Regions from separate parts of the Homo sapiens genome. Here regions 1 and 3 are each linked to region 2. Evidence: promoter capture Hi-C in human tissues and cell types (Jung and others, 2019). All regions are on one chromosome and are shown on one strand. Each heading gives the region's core, a stretch centred on a gene start or on the middle of the fragment in contact. The rest is flanking DNA. Distances are from core to core; before and after follow the strand shown. Region 1 overlaps SLC27A4 (solute carrier family 27 member 4). Region 2 holds the start of GOLGA2 (golgin A2). Region 3 has its middle 3.5 kb from the start of CIZ1.

Region 1 (3,110 bases), core at 501-3,000, 69 kb before region 2:
AAAACTTTTTTTAGGCCGGGCGTGGTGGCTCATGCCTATAATCCCAGCACTTTGGGAGGCCGAGGCGGGTGGATCACGAGGTCAGGGATTGGAGACCAGCCTGACCAACATGGTGAAACCTCGTCTCTACTAAAAATACAAAAAAATTAGCTGGGCGTGGTGGCGGGTGCCTGTAATCTCAGCTACTCAGGAGGCTGAGGCAGGAGAATTGCTTGAACCCGGGAGGTGGAGGTTGCAGTGAGCCGAGATCACGCCACTGCACTCCAGCCTGGGCGACAGAGCAAGACTCTATCTCAAAACAACAACAACAAAAAAAACAAAAAAAAACAAAAAACTTTTTTTAGTAGGCCAGGTGTGGTGGTTCATGCCTATAATCCCAGCACTTTGAGAGGCAGAGGTAGGTGGATCGCTTGAACTCAAGAGTCTGAGACCAGCCTGGGCAACATGGCAAAACTGAGTATCTACAAAAAATGTGAAATTTAGCCAGGCATGGTGGTGCATGTCTGTGGTCCCAGCTATTCAGGAGGCTGAGGTGGAGGGACTGCTTGAGCCTGAGAGGTCAAGGCTGCAGTGAGCTGTGACTGCACCACTGCACTCCAGCCTGGGTGACAGGGCAAGACCCTGTCTCAAAAAAATTTCTTAGTAGAGACAGGGTCTTACTATGTTGCCTAGGCTGGTCTCAAACTCCTGGGCTCAAGGGATCCTCCTGCCTTGGCCTCCCAACATGCTGGGATTACAGCTGTGAGCCACTATGCCCAGTCTGAAGTACCTTTTTGAAAACAGTATGAGGTAGGAACGACGGATGAGGAAACTGAGGCTCAGAGAAATCAGTCCCTTCCCCAGGATCTCGTTTACTCGTGGCACTGCCTAAGCTGTCTGACTCCACTCTGTGCCCTTAACCACTGACCCACACAGCCTTGGCAGGGCTGGAAGGGAGCTGTGGTCTGTGTAAGATCCCATGGGGTTCCTGCTTGTCCCCCGCCCCCTTGGGGCTCACCTGAGGCCATTTCGCTGCCAAAGACAAGGGCCCGTGCGCGCGAGGTGGTGAGGCAGTGGAGCAGAGCATCCCGCCGCAGGTTGGTGTTGATGAGGGCTGCCTCCACACCGAGCTTGGCCATGCCCAGCCATAGGCCCACGAACTCATTGCGGTTCTCCATGAAGATGGCAGCCACATCGCCCGAGGCCAGGCCCCGGGCCTGCAGGAAGTTGGCTACACTGCTTGAGTACTCATCCAGCTGGCGGAAGGTCCAGTGGGTATCTGTGCCCTCGAAGATCAGGGCCGTCTTGTCGGGGTGGCGCCGAACGGTAGAGGCAAACAAAATGGGCACTGTCCGCCGCTCCTGCAGGCACTGTCGCACCTTTGCCTTCACCTTCAGGAGGACCAGGCCGCCACTGTGTGTGAACAAGAGAGGGCGCTGTGTCTGCCATGGTTGGGAGGGAGGGGTCCTGACACCCTACCCCAGGCTGCTGCCTCGCCAGCCTATGCTTCATGAGCCAGACCCCCTACAACACTTCTATCTCCTGGCTCCTGCTGGGAACATGCACTGCCTTACTGATGCCTCTCAATAACACTGAGAGTTCGTATGATTCCCCTCCCCTTACACAGAAGGAAATCAAGGCTCTCGTGGTGCCGTGGCCTGCTCAAAGCTTCATGGATGGAGGGTGGCTGAGCTGAGATTTGAACTCTAGGCCTCTCTGGCTCCAGAGTTCTACTCCTACCCTCTCAGCCTGCTGCTCCAGCAGAAACCTCCTAGGTCTCCAGAGCTTCCTGTAAAAGTCCAAACTCCTTGTTTGGGGCCTCCCACAGTCCAGCTGCTCCCTCGACCCACCATGACCACAGTAAATAATGAATGAGTTTGCTGGTCTGTCCAGTCTTCCTCCCTGTGAGCCTAGCTGGGATAGGCTTCTGTCTTATTCAACACTCTATCCCCTGGGTCCTGTGCCAGGCAGAGTAGATGTTCAATAAGTTTGTGGAATCACTTGGCAACATCCCATTCCTGCCACCTTTGTTTTTTTGTTTTTTTTTTTGAGATGGCGTCACACTCTGTCACCCAGGTTGGAGTGCAGTGATGCAATGTCAGCTCATTGCAACCTCCACTTCCCAGGCTCAAATGATGCTCCCACCTCAGCCTCCCAAGTAGCTGGAACCACAGGTGTGCACCACCATGCCTGGCTAACTTTTTTGTATTTTGGTAGGGACGGGGTTTTGCCATGTTGCCCAGGTTAGTCTCAAACTCCTGAGGTCAAGTGATCCACCCACTTCGGCCTCCCAAAGTGCTAGGATCACAGGTGTGAGCCACTGCGCCCAGCCCTGGACTCCATGCCTTTGTTGCTGATGCTGTGCCTTCTGGTTGGATTCATCTCCTTCCACCACCACTAAGGCGCCTCTCAAGTACAGCCGCTTTTTCTCCAGGAGGCCTTCTCTGATTCCCAGGGTCCTGGCTGGCAGCTGTTTCTCCTTGCTCCATGCTCCCACAGCTACCACCCTTCCTGGTGTGCCACTCCGTGCCTTCTTTTGCAATCAACCAAGATTGACAAATGCTGAGCTGCCTGTGTGGGGTGTGGGTCACTGAACTGGGTGCTGGGACACAGTAGTGAGCAAGGCTGTGCCAGGGTCTCTGCCCACATGGCACTGCCAATTTACAGATGTGCTGTGTCCCTTTCTTTCTCCTGACCAATCTGAGCTTGGCAGATGGGGTCTGCCTTATTCCTCTCTGGACCCCAAAGCTAGCCTGGCACCTAGTAGAGAACAAGCGGGAATAGATATTTCTGGTACAGGATGTCCCTTGGAGCATACCGGGCTTTCTTTGGGGAGCAGGTTATCCCAGACATCTGAGTAGGGGCTCTGCTCTAGAACTCAGTGCCCCCTGTGCCATCTCACACCCCTGCCAACCTGAGGGCAGGGCCTTTCCCCAAAATTCCTCTTTACCCTTTCATAAACTTACAGAGTCCTCAGGACCCCTTGCAGATGTCTCAACACACTTGGTGTTCAATGTACGTCCTAGGCCAAGCCTGCCCAAGGCCTGGGAGCCTCAAGTTAGGGAGATTCCCTGGGAGAAGACTTTGACCTTGGAGATGGAGGGACCAGGTACTATTGCCAGGGTACGGGT
Region 2 (3,374 bases), core at 296-2,795:
AGACTTGTCTAGCTCTGTTGTCCAGGCTGGAGTGCAGTGGTGCAATCTCGGCTTACTGCAACCTCCACCTTCCGGGTTCAAGCAATTCTCCTGCCTCAGCCTCCTGAGTAGTTGGGATTACAGGCCTGCACCACCACGCTCGGCTGATTTTTTTGTATTTTTAGTAGAGACAGGGTTTCATCATGTTGGGCAGGCTGGTCTTGAACTCCTGACCTCAAATGATCTGCCCGCCTCAGCCTCCCAAAGTGCTGGGATTACAGGTGTGAGCCACTGCACCCGGCCCTCACGATCTACCTTAAGAGTGGTGGTAGTTGTAGTGGCAACTCCATCTGGGGGATGAGAGAAGGAGTAGGCTGCGTTTTGGGGGTGGCTTGCCAGCGAAGAGGAGAGACTATTAGCAACGAAAGGAGTGGCCAGGGTGAACGCCAAGCATTTTCCTGACTGGGGAGCTATGGGTTTGTTTAAAGGCAGGGCTGGGTGAGGGGTGAAAAGAGCGAGGAGGAGAGATGGCTGGTGCTGGACTGGAGTGAAAGGCATCTGAGGAGCCAGGAGACAGGATGGGGAGGGAGAGGAGTTAGCCTAGGACAGGACAGGATAACACTTCTTTGAAGACTGGCGGGCATGAGGAAAGGAAGGGGAGGGATTCGGGAATGACCTGGCGGTTCTCAGTCGACTGGGAGAAGATATGGAAGAGGGCCAAGCGGGGATTGGCTGCTGTTGGGATGGGGAGTGGGGCCGGGAGCGCACAAGGGAAGGTCGAGGATGGGAAAGGGGGTGTGGGGGAAGAAATACTCACAGGGGATCGGAAGGCCCCGCGGCAACTTCGGGTAAGTCTTGGTTCAGTCCTAGAGAGGAATCCGAGGGGAAAGTCTGATTGGACCCACAGCCCGCTGTGAGGACGGGGTACTGTGGGGATGCGGGAGGAGGAGCAGTTGGGAAGTAGGAGCGCCAGGGACTGGATCCATCTGGAAAGGGGGCAGACACGCTCTCAGGATCAGGGTAGAGACCCTCTAGGAAGGGGGCGTTCTGAGACGGGGGTTGTCTGGAGCACTGGATGGGAGTCTTTGGAGGTGATTTCTGGGAAGGGAGAGTCTGGGGCAGGGCTGTGAGGAGTCAGGAAAGAAACTGTGGAGTCCGTTCCTCGCCCACCTCCTGAGCCCTGGGGTCCGAGGCCCCCGGATCAGGGGGTTCAATGGCGCAAGAGGGTCCAGCGCGGGAGTCGGAGAGCGACCTCTCAGGTGCACCGGGCCAGGAACTCTGACCCGGAGTGTGAACTGGCGCACAGAAAGCTGCGCGCGCACCCAAGGAAAGCCGGCCCCGCCCCTCTCCCGAGGTGGGCGGGGACAGCGGTTGCGTGCGCAGCTTTTGTTGTGACGCCACAGGTCCCTCTGGCCACGCCGCTGCATAGCCACGCCCCCTTCCGCTTCATATTTCTCATTGACCAATGGGCTTTGATCTTTGAGGCCACGCCCCCATTCTGCGCTCCAGTATCGCCCTGGTTACGCCTCCTCTGGCTCCGTCGCACAGCTGCGCGGTGGCTGACTGACTTCCGCAGTGGTTGCCGGGATCGCGCTGATGTGGCCCCAACCCCGCCTCCCTCCCCGCCCCGCGATGTCGGAAGAAACCCGACAGAGCAAATTGGCCGCAGCGAAGAAAAAGGTAAAGTGCACCGGGTCGCGGCCCCCCGACCCAGCCCCAGCCCCACTCCGATGGCAGGACCATGGCCAGAGTCTCTGCCACTCCTGAGGCACACCGGGCTGGGCTCCCCACGGCGCGTCCGGGCTCCCTCCACCAAAGTCTTGTCAGCCAGCCCCGCCCCCTCAGCCGCCCAGCCCCCGCCCTCGCCAGTCGCCCCCGGGTGACTTTGGGCTGGTGCTCCCGGGGCTCCCCGCTCCAGACTCGGCCCTCACCTCCTGCCCCCCGAAGTCCGACCTCCCTGGGCTCTTTGGGCTGGCGTCTCCAAGGACCTAGGACCCCAGCAATTCAGCCCCTGCCCTCGCCAGTGACTTTGGGCCCGTGACTCCCGGGGCCCCCCGCTCCAGACTCGACCCTCACCTCCTGCCGCCCCAAACCGGACCTCCCGGGGTTCTTTGGTCTCGGGTCTCCAAGGACCTGGGTCCTGGCCCTGCGGTCCCCTCCCCCATCGCGGAGCGGCGACTTGGACGTCGCGCTGATGTTCCCCCTAGGAGTGGAATGTAGTGACGTCACAATCCCCCTCGGAACCGTAATTAGTTGCGCGAGACCAGTCTTTGATCTTAGGACCCAGTCCCCTAAGTGTTCTCATCCCGCTTCTGGTTCCTCTGGTCACAGCATAAATTTCCAGCTGGAAGGGGATTGGGGACTATGGGACCTAGGAGGGAGAGGTTTCAGGCTGCCTTACACCCTTAACATAGACATTGACAGTGTGAAAAGCCTACACTTCACCCGTGAACTGAAAACATTGGCAGTATCTCTGGGTGGCAATGTGAGAACGGGATTGGTTTGGTTTTCCCCCAGGCTTCTACTCTCCAGAGAGACTTTAACATTTTTTTCTGACTTCTCCACCTCATATTCGAATTCTCCATGGTTCTGGGACCAGAGTGCCCTTCAGTGGTCTCTGGAATGAGATCTGCTTATCTTCTGTGGAACAGGTCTTGGGAAACTGAACTTGACAGCTTGAATCTTCCTCATATCATCTCAACCTGGGGTACTTGGAGTGCCACAGGATAAATACGGGGCATCTTTCTGAAGCATCAGTCTCCCTTTATTCTCTTGAGAGAGAAAAAACATTAATGTACTTAGGGATGACAGTCACATAAATTTCTAAGAGTATACCAGACTTTTCTCTGAAATGAGGCTTGGGTTGTCCTCTTTCTGTTAAATTCCCAGGTTCAACAGAAAGGCTGCCTTCTGCCATGTGGATACATTGATGTAAAAGTTTGAGAGGCATTGGTGCATTTCTTAACATTACCAAACGTGTGAGGATGTATGACTCTAAACCACACAGTGTACAGTTCCTGCCGACTTAATGTTCCGGCCCACATTTTAAGATACATATTTATTTTTAGAGAGGGGGTGTCACTGTGTTGCCCAGTCTGACCTTGAACTCCTGGCCTTAAGTAATCCTCCTGCCTTAGCCTCCCAGGTAGCTGGGACTCCAGGCTTGACTTCTCCACCTCATATTTGAATTCTCCTTGGTGGAGTGGAATGTAGTGATGTCGCAGTCCCCCTCGGAACCGTAATTAGTGCGTGAAACCAGCTTTTGATCTTAGGACCCAATCCCTAAGTGTTCTCATCCCGTTTCTGGGATGAGAGGTGGAAAAGTACCTCTGCCTCTGGTTTTGGCCCCTGGCAGCTGCTGATTTGTGGCAAAACCCCAGAGCTTGGAGTCAGAA
Region 3 (3,155 bases), core at 12-2,511, 81 kb after region 2:
CTGAAGACAGAGCGAGACTCTGTCTCAAATAAATAAATAAATAATAGAGACATTCACCTCATTCTTTTCTTTTCTCTTTCTTTCTTTCTTTTTTTTTTTTTGAGACAGGGTCTCACTCTGTTGCCAAGGCTGAAGTGCAGTGGCACGATCGTGGCTCACTGTAGACTTGACCTCTCTGGCCCAAGTGATCCTCTCACCTCAACCTCCCAAGTAGCTGAGACTACAGGCACACACCACCATGCCCAGCTAATTTTTAGTTATTTGTAGAGACGGTGATCTCCCTATATTGTCCAGCCTGGTCTTGAATTTCTGGGCTCAAGGAATCCTCCCACCTTGGCCTCTCAAACTATTGGGATTATAGGTGTGAGTCACAACACCTGGCCCATTTACCTCCTTCTTAAACTGAAAAACGGGGGGTAAAGACGTCAGTTTTTCTCTAATTTAAACATATTTAGTGCAACACCAATCAAAATTCTAATGAGGTCCAGGTTTAGTGGCTCATGCCTGTAATCCCAGCAATTTAGGAGGCCAAGGTGGGTGGATCATCTGAAGTCAGGAGTTCGAGACCAGCCTGGACAACATGGTAAAACCCCATCTCTACTAAAAATACAAAAAATTAGCTGGGTGTGGTGGTGCATGCCTGTAATCCCAGCTACTTGGGAGGCTGAGACACAAGAATCACTCAAACCCAGGAGGCAGCGGGTGCAGTGAACCAAGATTGCACCACTGCACTCCAGCTTGGGCGACAGAGCGAGACTCTGCCTCAAAAACAAACAAACAAAAATTCTGATGGGATTTCAGAGGCTGGGGAAGGTTTGACAAAATTCTATGAAGTATCTGAAAAAAATATATAATTGGGAATTAGCAAAAATTTTTTAAAGAATAACAATGTCAGGGGCTTGCACTATGAGGGGGTAAACATATTCTAAAGCTATAATAATCAAAGTATGTGACATCATCATGAGAAGGGATAGATAGAGTCCATGAGAAGGGATAGATAGATAAAGTCCTGGAGCAGAATAGGTCTGGAAGGCCTGGCATGGAGGCTCACGCTTGTAATCCCAGCACTTTGGGAGGCCAAGGTGGGTAGATCACTTGAGATCAGGAGTTTGAGACCAGCCTAGTCAACATGGTGGAACCCCATCTCTACTGAAAATACAAAAATTAGCCGGGTGTGGTGGCGCATGCTTGTAGTCTCAGCTACTCAGGATGCTGAGGCACGAGAATCACTTAAATCCAGGAGGCAGAGACTGCAGTGAGCTGAGATCACACCACTGCACTCCAGCGTGGATGACAGAACAAAATTCTGTCTCAAAAAAACAAAACAAAACAAAAACACCTGGGATGGTAATGTGCATGCATTTTATAAGCCAGTGAGCTCACTTCACATCATATTGTGGGTGTTTATCCTTTGAAAACATAATTTCTGATGGCTGGGCACTGTTCCTTAAAAGGTGACACCATGACTTATTTAGCTATTCCCCTAAAGTTGATTATTTTCCAGACAGCTATTATAAATAATGTTTTGGCTGAATGTGGTGGCTCACACCTGTAATCTCAGCACTTCAGGAGACCATGGTAGGAGAATCACTTGAACCTATGAGTTCAAGACCAGCCCGGGCAACATAGTGAGACCCCTGTCTTTAAAAAAAAAAATACAAAAATTTGCTGGGCGTGGTGGCATGGACTTGTAGTCCTAGCTGCTCAGGAGGCTGAGGTAGGAGGCTCCATTGAGCCAGGGAGGGAAAGGCTGCAGTGAGCTATGATCGTGCCACTGCGCTCCAGACTGGGAGACAGAGCAAGACCCTGTCTCTTTTTTTTTGTTTTGTTTTGAGACAGTTTTGCTCTTGTTGCCCAGGCTGGAGTGCAACGATGGGATCTTGGCTCACTGCAACCTCTGCCTACCAGGTTCAAGCGATTCTCCTGCCTCAGTCTCCTGAGTAGCTGGGATTACAGGTGCCCACCACCAGGCCCAGCTAATTTTTTGTATTTTTAGTAGAGACGGGGTTTCACTATGTTGGCCAGGCTGGTCTCGAACTCCTGACCTCAGGCGATCCACCCACCTCAGCCTCCCAAAGTGCTGGGATTGTAGGCGTGAGCCACCATGCCCAGCTGAGGCTGTCCTTAAAAAGAAAAAAGAAAAAATATATAAATATTTCCATGAACAACCTGCTATCTTGTAAAAGTCTCATTTCTGATTATTTTCTTAGGCTAGACTCCTACAAATGGTGTTATTGGGTCAAAGGGCAAAACATGTGCAAGATTCTTTTTTTTTTTTTTTTTTTTGAGATGGAGTTTTGCTCTTGTCACCCAGGCTGGAGTGCAATGGTACGATCTTGGCTCACTGCAACCTCCGGCTCCCAGGTTCAAGCAATTCTCCTGCCTCATCCTCCCGAGTAGCTGGGATGACAGGCGTCTGCCACCATGCCCGGCTAATTTTTGTATTTTTAGTAGAGATGAGGTTTCACCATGTTGGCCAGGCTGGTCTTGAACTCTTGACCTCAGGTGATCCGCCTGCTTCAGCCTCCCAAAGTGCTGGGATTACAGACATGAGCCACTGCATCGGCCCAAGATTCTTGATATAAAATTTGCAAATTGCTTCCCAGAAAGATGAACCAACACAGGAAGTTAGTGCTGGCTTTCCACCTTCACCAGCACAAGCATTATTTTTAGTTTTTTCACTTTGGCAATTTGCTAAGCTCCTTCTGTGCCAGGTGCCAGTGCTAAGCATTATGTAATGTCATCCTTACCACCCCGGGAGGGGGCACACATTTCACCAAGGAGGAAACCAGCTAAGAGGCCTCTCCCCCAGCCAGTGTCACCTAGCCACAAGGCAGGGGAGTCACGATTCAATCCTGGACCTCTCCAACGCTAGCACCCAGATCAAGGTGTTAACATGCTTGCTTGGCAGCCTGGGCAGTCTTTGATTTTTATTTTTTAAAATGGAGTCTCACTCTGTCGCCCAGGCTGGAATGCAGTGATGTGATCTCGGCTGCAACCTCTGCCTCCCGGGTTCAAGCGATTCTTCTGCCTCAGCCTCCCGAGTAGCTGAGATTACAGGCGCCCGCCACCACATCCGGCTAATTTTTTTTGTATTTTTAGTAGACACGTAGTTTTACCATGTTGGCCAGGCTGGTGTCGAACTCCTGACCTTA

What was found. The method cuts DNA at HindIII sites, captures the fragments that hold promoters and counts their contacts. A contact is called where the count stands out against the background at its distance.
Region 1: a contact is called between a fragment that was not itself captured here and the fragment with the promoter of GOLGA2 in region 2, in 3 of the 25 tissues and cell types used here (dorsolateral prefrontal cortex, lymphoblastoid cells and spleen).
Region 3: a fragment that was not itself captured here is called in contact with the fragment with the promoter of GOLGA2 in region 2 in 2 of the 25 tissues and cell types used here (dorsolateral prefrontal cortex and lymphoblastoid cells).

The regions. Positions count from the first base shown.
Region 1 is chr9:128,343,437-128,346,546 of GRCh38, reverse strand. SLC27A4 (solute carrier family 27 member 4) reads right to left here. Exons shown (of 13, transcript NM_005094.4): 3 at 998-1,392. Among named protein-coding and RNA genes, the nearest start is that of SLC27A4, 4.5 kb to the right of the region's middle. The HindIII fragment of the contact is 5,235 bases long and covers 1-3,110 here.
Region 2 is chr9:128,274,178-128,277,551 of GRCh38, reverse strand. GOLGA2 (golgin A2) reads left to right here and starts at 1,545. Exons shown (of 27, transcript NM_001366244.2): 1 at 1,545-1,659. The coding sequence starts at 1,576. SWI5 (SWI5 homologous recombination repair protein) reads right to left here and starts at 1,276. Exons shown (of 5, transcript NM_001318089.2): 1 at 1,150-1,276; 2 at 797-845. The coding sequence starts at 1,211. RefSeq lists enhancers at 1,042-1,171, 2,032-2,081 and a silencer at 1,772-1,881. The HindIII fragment of the contact is 26,420 bases long and covers 1-3,332 here.
Region 3 is chr9:128,193,494-128,196,648 of GRCh38, reverse strand. It overlaps a transcript of CIZ1 not described here. Among named protein-coding and RNA genes, the nearest start is that of CIZ1, 3.5 kb to the right of the region's middle. RefSeq lists an enhancer at 3,009-3,155. The HindIII fragment of the contact is 6,885 bases long and covers 1-3,155 here.